4 separate regions of the Homo sapiens genome follow, and all the other regions are linked to region 2. The links are contacts of gene promoters, found by promoter capture Hi-C in human tissues and cell types (Jung and others, 2019). All regions are on one chromosome and are shown on one strand. The core of a region is centred on a gene start or on the middle of the fragment in contact, and the rest is flanking DNA. Distances in the headings are between cores, read along the strand shown. Region 1 overlaps NOTCH3 (notch receptor 3). Region 2 holds the start of AKAP8 (A-kinase anchoring protein 8). Region 3 holds the start of CYP4F22 (cytochrome P450 family 4 subfamily F member 22). Region 4 has its middle 26 kb from the start of HACL2.

What was found. Contacts are between HindIII fragments. The study calls those that stand out against the background at their distance.
Region 1: a fragment that was not itself captured here is called in contact with the fragment with the promoter of AKAP8 in region 2 in 2 of the 25 tissues and cell types used here (H1 embryonic stem cells and spleen).
Region 3: the fragment with the promoter of CYP4F22 here is called in contact with the fragment with the promoter of AKAP8 in region 2 in 1 of the 25 tissues and cell types used here (adrenal gland).
Region 4: a contact is called between a fragment that was not itself captured here and the fragment with the promoter of AKAP8 in region 2, in 1 of the 25 tissues and cell types used here (pancreas).

What each region holds. Positions count from the first base shown.
Region 1 is chr19:15,188,485-15,191,202 of GRCh38, forward strand. NOTCH3 (notch receptor 3) reads right to left here. Exons shown (of 33, transcript NM_000435.3): 7 at 789-944; 8 at 505-690. Among named protein-coding and RNA genes, the nearest start is that of MIR6795, 10 kb to the left of the region's middle. The HindIII fragment of the contact is 6,552 bases long and covers 1-2,718 here.
Region 2 is chr19:15,377,581-15,381,460 of GRCh38, forward strand. AKAP8 (A-kinase anchoring protein 8) reads right to left here and starts at 2,207. Exons shown (of 14, transcript NM_005858.4): 1 at 2,133-2,207. The coding sequence starts at 2,151. It overlaps AKAP8L (A-kinase anchoring protein 8 like), which reads right to left. Exons shown (of 14, transcript NM_014371.4): 13 at 2,937-3,032; 14 at 2,470-2,850. The coding sequence ends at 2,542. RefSeq lists enhancers at 1,348-2,263, 2,198-2,492, 2,264-3,178 and silencers at 1,453-2,002, 2,343-2,832. The HindIII fragment of the contact is 19,214 bases long and covers 1-3,880 here.
Region 3 is chr19:15,507,248-15,511,225 of GRCh38, forward strand. It overlaps CYP4F22 (cytochrome P450 family 4 subfamily F member 22), which reads left to right and starts at 1,278. Exons shown (of 14, transcript NM_173483.4): 1 at 1,278-1,336. RefSeq lists an enhancer at 922-1,422. The HindIII fragment of the contact is 20,579 bases long and covers 1-3,978 here.
Region 4 is chr19:15,149,810-15,153,916 of GRCh38, forward strand. No RefSeq gene overlaps it. Among named protein-coding and RNA genes, the nearest start is that of HACL2, 26 kb to the left of the region's middle. The HindIII fragment of the contact is 9,854 bases long and covers 1-4,107 here.

The DNA.
Region 1 (2,718 bases), core at 1-2,500, 190 kb before region 2:
ACCTTAATTTTCAGCCACAGGCTGGACTGTCACCCAGCCGTGGTCCCAACTGGCCCAAGGCTCATGGGTGTCCGCAGAGGCCTTGCCTTCAAACCCCTCCTCCTCTCCCCAGTCCTCAGACTAAGCCCTTTCCCCAGTCCCCAGCCCCCAGCCCCAGGGCCCCCCATAGCCTTTGCCCAGGCTTACTGCAAGCTTGTCTGCAGGCTTCACCTTGACCTCACAGCAGCCCCGACTCTGCCTCTCTATCCCCAACCCCTTCCCGAGTGGGTCCTAAGGCCAAGAATACTCCCAGCCCACCTGAGGTTCTACTGACTCCATTTGACCAAGCCCCCAGAATCACACAGTATTCCCTTCTGGTCCTGACCCCACCTCCTTCCAGGCTTCAGTCTCTAAGGGTCCCACTCCAAACCCACTTACACCCCATTCTGCTCAGCTCCCCATCCGCGGGCTTCTCTGTCCCCGCCCCCTGCCTCAGGACCCGCCCAGGCCACGCCCACCACCCACCTGCCATACAGATACAGGTGAACTGGCCTATGCGGTCGAGGCACGTGGCCTGGTTTCGGCAGGGCCCCGACAGACACTCGTTGACATCGGTCTCACAGCGAGGTCCAGTGTAGCCACGACCGCACTGGCACAGGAAGGAGCCCTGCGTGTTCACGCACCTGCCCAAGTGCTCGCAGGGGTTGGCGCCTGCCGGATGGAGTGCGATCGGTGTGGGCGTGGCTGGCCGGGACCCCCTCCTCTCCCCTCTTTCCCAGCCCATTCACAGACGATGGAGCTCCCCTCACCGATAGAGCACTCGTCCACATCCTGGTCACATGCCCCACCCGTGAAGCCGGGAGGACAGGTGCAAATGGCCCGGCCGTTCACCGGATTTGTGTCACAGATAGCATCCTCGTGGCAGGGGTTGCTGACACAGGCGTCATCCAGGTGACACAGGAGGCCTGGGAAGTGGTAAGCAGAAGTCATAGGCAGATCTTCCTGCTCTGCCCAAAAGGCCCACACCCCTTGAGTATTGTTTTGTCGTTGTTGTTGTTTTGTTTTGTTTTTTGAGACGAAGTTTCGCTCTTGTTGCCCAAGCTGGAGTACAATAGCGCGATCTTGGCTCACTGTAACCTCCACCTCCCAGGTTCAAGCGATTCTCCTGCTCAGCCTCCCGAGTAGCTGGGATTACAGGCATGTGCCACCACGCCCGGCTAATTTTTTGTATTTTTAGTAGAAACGGGGTTTCACCAAGTTAGCCAGGTTGGTCTCAAACTCCTGACCTCAGGTGATCTGCCTGCCTCAGCCTCCCAAAGTGCTGGGATTACAGGCGTGAGCCACCGCGCCCGGCCTGTTGTTTTTATTAAACCTAAACAGTATTTAGTAGCTGCTTTTTTAATCCATTTATTATGAGAACTATCAAACATACAGAAAAGTTGACCATTCATATACCCACCACCTAGATTCAACTATTGTTAGCTTAATCTACCAATCTTCTTTTCTAAACCATTTAAAAATAAATTGCAGACCGGGCACAGTGGCTCACGTCTATAATCCTAGCACTTTGGGAGGCCAAGGTGAGTGCATCGCTTGAGTTCAAGAGTTCAAGACCAGCCTGGGCAATATAGTGAGACCCGTCTCTACAAAAAATACAAAGCTTAGCCGGGCATGGTGGCGCACGCCTGTAATCCCAGCTACTTGGGGGACTGAGGTGGGAGGATCACTTGAGCCCAGGAAGTCGAGGCTGCAGTGAGCTGAGATCATGCCACTGTACTCCAGCCTGGGTGACAAAGTGAGACTCTGTCTCAAAAATAAAATAAAATAAATTGCAAACATCCACATATTGTTTTAAAACCTTTTGACTCTTCTGATTACAAAAGGGTCCTACACTCCAGCCTTTGCTTCTGTAATACCCTCTGCCATGTATGCCCTCTTTCTATATCCACGTTCCCCTCCTAAACATGTTCTCTGATCTTTGCCACTTCCAAAGGTAACTCCCAGGAGTTCCCCATTCCAATGGCTTCTGCCCTGAGCCATGCATCAGTGCAATGTCAGCCTCCTCCCAAGCCTCTCCCAGGCTTACACTTCCCCACTAAAGCTGCCTCCAGCATCATCTTTTTTTCTCTCTCTTTTTTGTTATACACGGTCTTACACTGTCTCCCAGGCTGGAACGCAGTGGCTCAGTCTCAGCTCACTGCAACCTCCACCTTCTGGGCTCAAGCCATCCTTCAACCTTAGCATCCAGAGTAGCTGGGACTACAGGCATGCGCTACCATGCCCAGCTAATTTTTTGTATTTTTGGTAGAGATAGGGTTTTGCCATGTTGCCCAGGCTGGTCTCAAACTGCTGAGCTCAAGCAATCTACCCGCCTGGGCCTCCCAATGTGTTGGGGTTACAGGCGTGAGCCACCACACCCAGCCTACCAAGTTTTTGTAGAGATGACAAAAACTCACTATGTTGTCCAGGCTGGTCTCAAAGTCCTGGGCCCAAGCGATCCTCCCATCTTGGCCTCCCAAAGTGCTGGGATTACAGGCATGAGCCACTGTGCCCGGCCTAGCATAATCTTTTTTTTATTTTTTAAATTTGAGAAGGAGTCTCACTCTGTCACCCAGGCTAGAGTGCAGTGGTGCAATCTTGGCTCACTGCAATCTCCACCTCCTGGGTTCAAGCTACTCTCGTGCCTTAGCCTCCTGAGAGACTTGGATTACAGGTGTGCACCACCACGCGCAGCTAATT
Region 2 (3,880 bases), core at 957-3,456:
GCCTCAGCCTCCCGAGTAGCTGGGACTACAGGCGCCTGCCACCACGCCCGCCTAATTTTTTGTGTTTTTAGTAGAGACGGGGTTTCACCATGTTAGCCAGGATGGTCTCGATCTCCTGACCTCGTGATCCGCCAGCCTCGGCCTCCCAAAGTGCTGGGATTACAGGCGTGAGTCACCGCGCCAGGCCCTTCCTGCCACTTTTAAGGCCTCCACGGATCCCCTGGACCTTTAAGTCCCAGAGCCTTCGCCTGGCCCTAAGGCATCAGACAGCACTCTTCACCCCTCCACACCCCCCGCCCACTATGGCATCTGTCTGGTCCCTCCAGGAAGGAGAATGGGAACTGTGTTCTCTTTATTTCTGTGTCCCTGGGGCCCAGCACTGAGCTGCGCGCGGGTGGCCACCATGCCTGTTAAATGACTTCACTTTGATGAGGCAGGAACATATCCATGTCTCCCTCACCAGAACAACTCCCCCGCCCCCGGCTAAGTGCCTAGTGCGTGCCGATACACCGCAAGCACCCAGCAAACCCTGTTGTCCGGAATGCCATTCAGAGACAAGGGAGCTAGGCTCATGGGTTACGAGACTTGACCCAGTCATACTGCTGAGTTTTGCCCTCTGCTATGCTACGCCTTCCCCTCCGTCATACCGCAAAACCTTCTAAATTCGCATCCGTGCAGCAGAAAGGCAGACTGCAGATTCCAACAGCAAGTAACCAACCTCGAGAGACTGCTTCTCTGTGAAGCTCTAGTGTAAGTGGCACGCACTATTAACCTTAAAACGCTCCCGGAAACACAAGAAATCAGGGAAGCTTAACTATCTCCAGTGTGTCTGAAAGGTTTTCGGCAGGTAGGAAGAGGGGGTAAAAAAAACCTCTCCAAACTAAGAATGAAAAGAAGGAATACAATACCTGCAGAAAAGATCTGATGGGAAAGAAGGGAAAGAATGGTGAAATCTACCCAGGCTGCGGAAGACCAGGAGAGCCAGGCTGAGCCTTCGCTAGGACCCGGAAGACACCAAAGCACACCGCGCACGCTGCCGCCTCAGGACCGAAACCTCTCTCTGCAATTTCTGGTGCTGGGATACTTTTGCCCTGCCACTTCTCAAGATCGACAACTTCTCGAGCTCCTGCAGCCAGGATCAGACCACTAGCTTCTCTACAACCAGTCGAGCTCCACCCAGCATGTCCCAACTATCCCCTGTGGGCAAACTTTGCTCCCAAAAGGCTCTGATTCCAGAAGCAGGGAGCAGGCAGCTCGAGAAGATCGGCCCTACTGCAGGCCAAGCGCTAAATCCTAGTGGGGAAAGGACACGTTCCCTCCTGCACAGCCCCTCGGCCCCTCCAGGCCACCACAACAGACTGCCTAAAGGAGAACTGCCAATGTCACCAGCCCCAGGGCACATCAGGTTTCCAGCTTTATACGAACACTCAGCATCTGCCCCTCACCATCCTGTCCCAAGCCAGCACGCGCCGGGTACAGAGCTGGAGCCCGGCGAGGCTGACTCTCGCGCCGGCAGCACTCGGCCCCACCGCGCTGCACCGGGGACTAAAGGCCCGACCCCGCGCAGCCCGACGGCTTCCGGGACAGGCGCCCTGGGCCACGTGAGCCCAGCGGAGACCCTACACGGCCCCGCGGGCCTAGGGCAGGTCGGGAGAGAGGCGGCCCCCGCGGTCCGCCCGCGGCCCCAGACCCAGCTCCCCGGGTCCGACCTCACAACCCCACGCTGTAGCTCCGCCCCCCTAGCGCCGCCATTTTGTGGCGTCTTCGGAAGAGGAAGCCGGGAGTGCAAACCCCGGGGTCGCTGGGGGCCGGAAGGACTCCGCCGAAGGTGAGGGGCAAAAACGGCCCACACTGTCTAAGACGCCCCCACGAAGCCCACCGCGGCGTCTGCCCCAACCCCGAGTCCCGCCCGCCTCCTCGGGGCCTGGCGGCCAATCCGCACGCAGAGCCCCGGGAGCGACGGCGCCAAAGCCCAATGAGCGGCGCGCGCGCGCCCTGGCCGCCTCTCCGGAGGGCCCAGCTGGGGCAACCACGCTCGGGACGAAGGCCCGGCCGGCGGCAGTCTGCGCAGCGGCTGCGTCGCCCGCACAGAGCCTTCCCTCCCCGCTCCGCACCCAGCAGCCAACACAAACCTCCGTAGCCCTGGTCCATGTCTTCGACGCGGCCCACCAGCAGCCCCGTTTACTAGGCGACCACAGCACGCATGCGTTCAGCGCACCTCCGCCATCGACTACTGGAAGACCAGGCGCACACGTCACTACTTCCGCGCGCCCCCATTGGCTGGTCTTCACGAGGGCCCGCCCTCGCCGTCCCAGCTGGCCTTTCGGGCTGCTACGATCCAGCTCCGTGGCCTAATGGGAGTTGTGGTCCCACCGCGGTGCCCGACGGCCCGGCCCGCGCGCATGCGCACCCCGCCCCTCTGCCCACCCCGCCCCGCCCGCGCGGCACAGTAACAGAGAAACCCGGAGGTGGGATGGGAAAACTTTATTAGGTTTGGTTTCCAGCTTCGGCCACGCGGGCTCCGCCCGCCCCGAGCTCGGGTCACGGGGCGCCCCCGCCGCCCTCCTCGTCGTCCTCCACGTCGAGGCCCGGGATGCCGCGGATCTGGCGTTGCAGCGCCCCTCCCAGCAAGGGCACGGCGCCCTCCTCCTCCTCCTCTGGGGGCGGCGGCGGTGGCGGCGACACGGCCCCGGGGGCTGGCTCTGGGGGCACGGGAGGCTGCGCCGGCACGCCCTCTGCGCCCTCCGAGATCCCTGCCGCTTCGCCCTGCGCCCCCTCGTCCAGGGCACCGCCCTCAGCCTCCTCCTGCTCCTTCTCCTCCTCGGGGCTGTCGGTGAAAGGGTTCTCGCCCTGTGGGGAGGGGCGCGGACACTGAAGGGAGGGAGCACAGGCGGGGACTAAGCTGGGGACAGGGCAGGCCCGGACCAGTGCCTCACCTTCAGGTAGCGCTCCAGCTTCTTGCTGATGAGCTTGTTGTTGAGAATACTGCGGGCCACCATGAGGGAGGACTTCTTGGACTGCTCCATCATGAGCTGCGGGCAGGGCAGAAGGAGCTGGAGAGGCTGCTCTGAGTGCCCTACAAGTTGCTGCCCCGACCCTGCCAGCTTAGAGGGACCCCACCCCGCCCCTGCACCCACGCACTTCCAGCCCCACCAACGGAGGGCCACTCCACAAGCATGGAACCACAACCTATCTGATCTTTGTTCAAATTCCCTCTCCTTCCACACCACACTTACTGTAGGTAAATAAAAATACAGATCTATATATCTCTAACTTTACGGCTGTATTACAGAAATCTGATTTGCTTACAAAAAAGCTATAAGCAGTGAACAATTAAGAAACTAAGAGCCAAAGGTGGGTGCAACCTGTAACAAGGTGCCAACTAGGCTAATAGGCAAGGAGCACTTTGGGGCCAACGGGGAAGATATAAAAACAGGAACAGATATTTAATGAAACGTCTTTTTTAACCCACAGAATTCCAAGAATGAAGAATTATTCCCAGTCATGCAAGGGTGAAGAGAGTCTTCTCTGCTGGTGGGAGGATCAACTGTTTCCGTATTTTTTGGAAAGCAGTTTGACACAATGTATGAAAAGTAAAAATCTGTCTCATTAATCCCTTCCCAGAACGTATCCTAAATTTAAGAACTGGAAACATGCGTGCACACTGATTGTAGTGGTGAAAAATGGGAAAACACCTAAACGTTCCTCAGTGCAGAAGAGGTTAAATAAATCGTACATTCAAAAGAACATCATGCAGCCCTTCAAATCGGGCTCATCTCTGCACTGGCATAAGAAAGGTGTATAATATAGTACTGTCTGCAGAGCATGCCAGAGCCATTTTGTCTGGAAGGATTTCCATCAATATGCTGGGCCATCTCAT
Region 3 (3,978 bases), core at 28-2,527, 130 kb after region 2:
GACCAATCAACTAACAGGGGGCACCTCCCCTACTCAAGCACCATCCATGGCTCCCCACTGCCCACCAGATCAAGATCCAGCCATTCAAACTGGCCTTCACAGTCAACTCCTGCATCCCTCCAGCCTCCACACCTCTCACACTCCAAGGCCAGGGAAAGCCATCTGCTAAGTCACACCCTCCAGTTTCTCTGTGCTTGAGCTCTACCCCCTCTCCTGCACTTGTTGAAATCCAACCTCTCCATGCAGTCCCAGCTCAAGTGTCACATCCTCCACGTCGCCTTCCCTGACCTCATGTCTGCCTCCTCCAAGCAGCAAAACTTCAATTACTTGTGTCTCCTCTTCTTCACCAGGAGACATGCCCCACACCTCCCACGCCCTCTTTCCAAGGGCCCAGCACCAAATGAGAGCGTATTCTTAGAAAAAAGAGGGATAAGGAAGTCTTCTAAGTTTACCACCTGCTGGGGCAAGTGGAGATTCTTGTCTTCTCATCTGTCTGCCCACGTGCTAAGGTCAGCCACACATCCACCCACCGACTCCGGAGGACAGACACATCCAGAGGCGGAGCTGACTCTGTCTCCACACATCTGGAGTAGACGGGTTGGCCAAGGACAACATCCTGGTCAGAGGGTCAAGGTGTCTGGCAGTGGGTGGGGAGGAGTGGCGGAGGGCGGGTTGGCGGGGAGCAGAACCAGTCTGGTGCTGCTTGTTGAGGTTGGAGGTCTTCCTGGAGGAAGAGGCTGCAGAGCCTCCAGGGGTGGGTGCCGGGGAAGCTTAGGCCCAGGATCCAGAGAGAGGGGAAGGGCTGGTTCCCAAGGGCTGGTGGAGCCAGAGAATTCCTGAGGGCCCCAGAGGAGGCTTCTCGGGGGGGTCAGTGGGGCCCCAGGGGGTGATGGTTTAGAGATCGCTGTCCAAGCTTGGGAGCAAACCTGGAAGTAAGGGCCATGGGGGGTGTTGGTGTGGGAGGAGTGTGGTCCAGAGCGGGACTTGGGCGCTAATGCGGCCCAGCAGTGGCAGGAGGGCGGGGAGCCTGATGGTTTGGGACTTCTAGGTGTCCAAGTCTCTGTCTCTCTTCATCTCTCCATCTCAGTCTCAGTCTCTCTCTCTTTCCATCGCTCTCCACCCCTCCACACGCCTATTTCTTGTTCTCTCCTTTTCTAGGGGGCAGCGCTGGAGTCCCCGCCCAGAACCCTGCGGGAGCCCGGGGCGGGATGTCCGGGGGCGGACCCCTCGGCACGGCCGGGCGGGGTTAAAGGGTTGGGCCGTGGGACGGCGCGGTCAGATCCCAGGTAGTGGCGCCGGTGGATCCGGATCGAGGGCAGGAGGCTGAGACCCGCGGGTGAGTGCGCGCGTGGTGAGGGCTGTAACCTGAGCGCGGCCGCGGCGCTGCGCTGGAACCCGAGGCTCGCGCGGTTCGGTGCTGGCGGGGCAAGGGCGAAGGTCTGCGCGCGGCGGCGGGCGGGGCGCAGCCGGCCACGGGGACCCCCCCAGGACCCAGGACGGGGCTGCATGCCCGGGGCACTCGTGGGGAGAGGGGCACGTGGGTGTGTCCCCGACGTTTGCTGCATTTGTGAGTTGTTTTCTTTTTTTTTTTTTCTGTGTGCGCCTCGGAGTCCTAGGCGCATCCTTTTCTCTGGGTATCTGTGATGGGCAGGGGGCCTCCAAAAGACCCCTCTGGTAGTCAGGACATCCCAGATGGGTTCAAGCCCCGCCCTGGGACGCCTCTTTGGGGCTGAATGGGGATTCGCCCTGAGATTTCACCACTGCACGTTGTCTTGACGGGGAGGTTGTAGTACATTCAACCGATGGGGTTAGGCTTGTGGTTCAACTGCTATCAGGAACCCTCTGCCCATCCATGCCAGACGCAGAGCCCCTCTATGAAAAGACGGTGTTCTTCTGGCCCCGAGAGTTGGCTCTGAGGGTTGTGTGAGGTCCTGGGGTTGGTCCCAGGTGATCTTCGTCTGATAGATGCTGGAAGGAAGATGTTTTCTGGCCTCCCAGGGGCCTGGCCCAGCCTGGGTATGCAAGTTGGCCGAGGCTGGCCACCTGGGGAGTCGCAGGCTGGAGAGGCCTAGGCTCAGGGCATCTCTCCTGGTTCATCTGCCCGCTCACAGCTCATTCATGCACTCATTGTGAGTCTCACCGCCCTGTAGGCAAAGGAGATGGCCAGGGCTGGCTGCGTACCCGAAATTCCTCCTACCCTGTGCCCCTTGCTCCACCCCTTATTTCTAGGTCCTGGAGCTGTGCCCAGCCAGGGCTGGCAGCATCAAACTCCTTCTTGTGTAACTCCAAACCCCAAAGAGAAGGAACCTCCCCAAATCTTCCCTACCACCCTCATTTTACAGGCACGGAAACTGAGGGCCAGAGAGAAGAAGCCTGTGCCTGTGGATACCCAGTGCCCAGTGGGAGAGCTGGGATTTGAAAAAACAAGCCCTGTTTGACCCCAAAGCCTCAGTCCACTTTCCGATGTCCCCGGCATCACCAAATGGCCCAGCTTGGGTTTCTGAACAGTAACATTAACTCTGGCCTGGTGTCTGGCGGTGACCCAGGTTGGTATCTGCAGAGGGGCTTGGATGACTTGAGAGGCATTCAGGGAATGGGACCCATCTCTCCTTCCTTCCTTCCTTCCTTCCTTCCTTCCTTCCTTCCTTCCTTCCTTCCTTTCTTTCTTTCCTTCCTTCTTTCTTTCTTTCTTTCTTTCTTTTCTCTGTCTCTCTCTCTTTCTTTCTTTCTTTCTTTTTTTGTTGTTGTTGTTGAGACAGGGTCTCACTTTGTCACCCAGGCAGGAGTGCAGTGGCATAATCATAGCTCACTGCAGCCTCGATCTCCTGGGTTCAAGCAATCCTCCTACCTCAGCCTCCTGAGTATGGAGGACTACAGGCATGCACCACCACTCCTGTCTACTTTTTGTATTTTTGGTAGGGATGGGGTTTCACCATGTTGCCCAGGCTGGTCTTGAACTCTTGGGCTCAAGTGATCCACCCGCCTCAGCCTCCCAAAGTGCTGGGATTACAGGCATGAGCCACTGCGCCTGACTCATCTCTCCTTGTTGATAAAACTTGGACCTGATTCTCCAAACCCCAGATGGCCAGGTCACAATAATGAACGTGATGGCAGCACCAACGGTAATGAGAGATATCATTGATCAAAGGCTTACTATGTGCCTGGAAGATTGCAGCCCCATGAGGTGGGTAAATAGGGCTTCTGTCTTAATGGATGAAGAAATTGAGGCTCAGAGAGGTGCAGACACTCACCCGAGGTCGCACAGCAAAGAGGCAGACCTTTATAGAATCTTTTCTGAGGCTCATGTCCAGGTGTGGCCACACTTGGGATGGTGGGCAGAAACAATTACAACCCTGCAATGGTCTAGATTATTAGTGGTTTTAAAACTTCTTTTTCTGCCAGGATCCCCTTTGGGCCAAGGAAATTATTAGCAAAAGGTTTGAATATGATCAAAGCTGCGATAGGACTGTCTCCTTTACCACATTTGCCAACTTGGCCCTGCCCTCATTAGTCATAAATGACTCTGAAGCTCTTTCTCAGAACCTTAGAAATTTAGAGTGCTGAGTGGAGACTGAAGACCTAGAAGCCAGGCTGAGTGTGGTGGCTCATGCCTGTAATCCCAGCACTTTGGGAGGCTAAGGCTGGAGGATGGTTTGAGCCCAGGACTTTGAGACCAGCCTGGGGAATATAGGGATACCATATATATATATATATATATATTTTTTTTTTTTTTTTTGAGATGGAGTTTTGCTCTTGTTGCCCAGGCTGGAGTGTAATGGCGTGATCTTGGCTCACTGCAACCCCTGCCTCCCGGGTTCAAGCTGTTCTCTTGCCTCAGCCTCCTGAGTAGCTGAGACTACAGGCATGTGCCACCATGCCTGGCTAATTTTGTATTTTTAGTAGAGATGGGGTTTCTCCATGTTGGTCAGGCTGGTCTCGAACTCCCGACCTCAGGTGATCCTCCCTCCTCCCAAAGTG
Region 4 (4,107 bases), core at 137-2,636, 230 kb before region 2:
CCTCTGTGACAGGTGCTTCTGAGGGCATGAGGACACAGCAGGGAACTAAATGGGCAGAGATACCTGCCCTGGAGGAGCAGAAGGTACTAAGGGAGGCAGCCGCGCAATCAGCCACAAACAGGATAACTCAACAAGTGAGTTACATCAGAGCTAAGTGCTAGAAACAGAAAAGAGGACCTAAAGGGAGAATTGAGAAATCAGGGGAGAGTTGCCATTGTTAATGGGATGGTCAGAAAAGTCCTTGTTGATGTTTAATCACGGTCAGCTCAGAATTTCTCCTTCCTCGACTGCCCCAATTTTCTGATCTCAGCTCTAGGCTAGAGATGGATCAGCGTGGCTTCTCCAGCCAGGCAAAGACCCCGAATTCACAATTGAAAAAGAATGAGGGAATGAGTCAAGACGGAGGAGAGCATTCCAATTTCTCCTTCCTTGACTGCCCCAATTTTCTGATCTCAGCTCTAGGCTAGAGATGGATCAGCGTGGCTTCTCCAGCCAGGCAAAGACCCCAAATTCACAATTGAAAAAGAATGAGGGAATGAGTCAAGACGGAGGAGAGCATTCCAGGTAGAGGCAACACCCTGTGGCTGCACCATGCCTGGTACAGGAGCAGCAAGGAGGAATAGTGAGGGAGAGACAGTGAGGGAGAGGGAGCAGGTAAGCACAGGGAGGGGACAGAGGGATGTTGTGTAGGCCTTGTAGATCAAGGGGAGGACTTGGCATTTACTCCTAATGAGGTGGGACTATGGAGGGGTCTAAGCAGAAGAGGGACATCCCCAGGCTCAGGTGTTCCCAGACGCCCTCTGGTGGCTATGGGAAAACTGTGCGTGAGGCATTGGACACAGCAGGTTAAGAGGTGACTAGGCTGGTCCAGGCCGATGATAATGGGATCAGTGTGGACCACGTGGGCCATTGGAAGTGGGCTTGCCATGGTGGGCACATGGAGGTGGTGAGGACTTGCCCATCTGGATGGGTTGTGAAGGTGAAGCCCAATGAATTTTTTGATGGGTTAGAAGTGAGTTTAGAGACAGGCCGGGCATGGTGACTCATGCCTGTAATCCCAGCACTTTGGGAGGCCAAGGCAGGCAGATCACTTGAGATCAGGTGTTCAAGACCAGCCTGGCCAACATGGTGAAACCCTGTCTCTACTAAAAATACAAAAATTAGCTGGGTGTGGTGGCACATGCCTGTAATCCCAGCTACTTGGGAGGCTAAGGCAGGAGAATCGCTTCAACCCGGGAGGCGGAGGTTGCGGTGAGCTGAGATTATGGCACTACACTCCAACCTGGGCAAGAGAGTGAGACTCCATCTCAAAAAAATTAAATAAATAAACAAATAAGTCAGGTGCAGTGGTGTGCTCCTGTGGTCCCCGCTACTTTGGAGGCTGAGGTGGAAGAACTGCTTGAGCCTAGGAGGTTGAGGCTGCAGTGAGCTGTGATCATGCCACTACACTCCAGCCTGGGCAACACAGCGAGATCTTGTCTCAAAAGAAAAAAAAAAAACCTTAACCATTTCCATTCATTCATGTATTCATTGAACAAATATTTAAATATTTTTAATTAAAAATTTTTTTTGGCTGGGCATAGTGACTCACGCCTGTAATCCCAGCACTTTGGGAAGCCAAGGTGGGTGGATCACCTGAGGTCAGGAGTTCAAGACCAGCCTGTCCATCATAGTGGAACCTCGTCTCTACCAAAAATACAAAAATTAGCCGGGTGTGGTGGCACACACCTGTAATCCCAGCTACTTGGGAGGCTGAAGCAGGAGAATCACTTGAACCCAGGAGGCGGAGTTTGTAGTGAGCTGAGATCGCACCATTGCACTCCAGCCTGGGCAACAAGCGTGAGACTCTGTCTCAAAAAAAAAAAAAATTTATTGTTTTAAAAACAGAAATAGGCTCAAAGAAAGAGCTGGTGGAGGAGCTGGCAGAGTCACACTGGGGGATAGGGGCAGGGCCAGCCCAGCTGGAGTTCAGCGAGGACTCTGTCCATCTCAGGATTGCTGGGGGTGGGGACCCACAGTGTCTAGAGCTCTCAAACCGACAACCTGGCCCCTCTCCGCTCTCATCTTGGAGGTGGCGTCTGCCCCAACCCCCTGCACCCACCCCAGACAGAAGGAAGAAGAAAGGAGGAAATCCCAAATGTGGCTGAACATTAACTCTGCAACAGCTGAGGAGCTGTGACTGAGTTTGCTGCAATGTGTCCAGATTCCAGGCCTGACCCAAAAAGAGGTCAATTCACAGGAGTAGAATATTCCTTATTTGCCTACCTGGAACCCATGAAAATTGCACCCATTGAGAGCGCCCAGGCTGGTTGCTTGCTTAGTGAGAGAGTTACAGGGAACCAGTTGGTGCTGAGTTCAAGGACCAAGCCAATGCCACCTCCACAGTGCAGGGGAGAGGGGACCAGGTGACACTCCTGAGAGCTGTCTGGAGCCGGGAAGCTGAGGAATGCATGGGACTGGGGTCTGGAGTCTTTCCTTTTCCTCTTTCTTCTCATCAGGAAGACCCCCAAAGGCCCTTCTCCGCCCCTTTCAGCCCCACCCTAAATGACTCTGTGTGTGTGTGTGTGCGCGCGCACTCATGAGACTCTAGGGCACATGCGTGTCCACACCCCATATCTTCCCTGTCTGCTTGCACACCTGTTCACACCATGATGCAGTGTCTGCATGTGTGTGACTTTTCAAGGGTCTCTTTTGGTTCCCCCAGATGCGCCTCCTTGCCTTTCTGGGAAAATCTTATATTCTTCTCCAGCCCATGCTTTGTAGTTGGCAAAAAACAGATCGAACACCTTTCTGGGAAACTCCATTCAAGTGTGTCACTGCTTAGCCTTTTCTGGGTTAGCATAGTCCCTCTACAGTTTCTCTCTCTCCCCACTTATTTGTAGATCTGAACCTTAAGGCCAGGGATGGGCCGGGGTGGCTCCTTCAGCCAGGAAAAGCCTCTGAATTCACACTCACCATTGCCAAGGGAGGCTCCTGCAGTGCCTGCTGGCATCGCTCTGTTCACCACCTAAAAAGGGAGGGGCTGAGGACACAGCTCCTGTTATGCTGAGGGTCCCCAGAGCTGCCATCCCACAGGCCCCCTGAACACTAAGAAGTCCCACGGAGCTCAGGCAGGTGGCACCCTGAGGGGATTTTCCCTCCAGGAAACTCAAGACCCCTGGGTCAGCTTCCTAAGCCCACAGACCCTGCATGCACAGAGCGGGAAAAGGACTAATTACTATTTCTTTTTGTGGATAACAAGCAGAAATTCATTAATGAATGGCAGAGCATTCATTCATGCTCCTAGTACCCACCTGCGCTAGGCAAGGCTGCTTCCTGAGGAAATGCACCCCCAGGCCCTGCCCTCAAGAGAGGGAGGAAGGAGTGGATCATTTGATGTTGTTCTACCAATGTTGCCCAGGTTTAACATCTCTTGGTGACCTCAGCCTTCTCCATCCCTCCTTCCCTAGACCATTAATTACCAAATCAGCATTCTTCCTCCCAAAATTCTCTCTATCCCCTCACCTCCACCCCAACTCAGGACTGCATTATTCTTACCTGTTGCAAGAACCTGCAGTGTCAACTCCCTCCAGTCTGACCTCTGCACTGACCCCAGGACAGAAAACTCAAGCTGTGCTCCTCCTCTACGCAAGCACCTTCCATGGCTCCCCATTGCTTTCAAAGTTTAAAATCCCTCCATCTTCACATCCAAGACTGTTGTGATATGACCCCTGCCACCTCCTCTACTACTAAATACAGCCATTGCTCCACTCATAACAACACTCACTCCTACTTTTACTAAAAACACACCACCAGCATCACCTTCTCCAGGAAGCCTTCTGTAAGAACCCCCAAGCTAGTCATATGCAGTATCTGGGCTACCAGAAGTCCTGGGTTGTCTCTTCATATTGTCTGTGTTCCTCTGTGTCTCCTGTTAGCCTGTGAGCTGTCGGACCTGGCCTCATCTTATTCCTTTCTCCAGGAGCATTAAACTTAGATGATAAATCTGTTCCTTGCAATGCTCCTTTCTCTTTCTTTTCATGGTATATGCTTTTTCTCTGGCCACTCTTCCTTAGTCTCCTCCTCTTCTGACCCCTAATATGATAATTCCCCAGGGCTCAGTCCTAG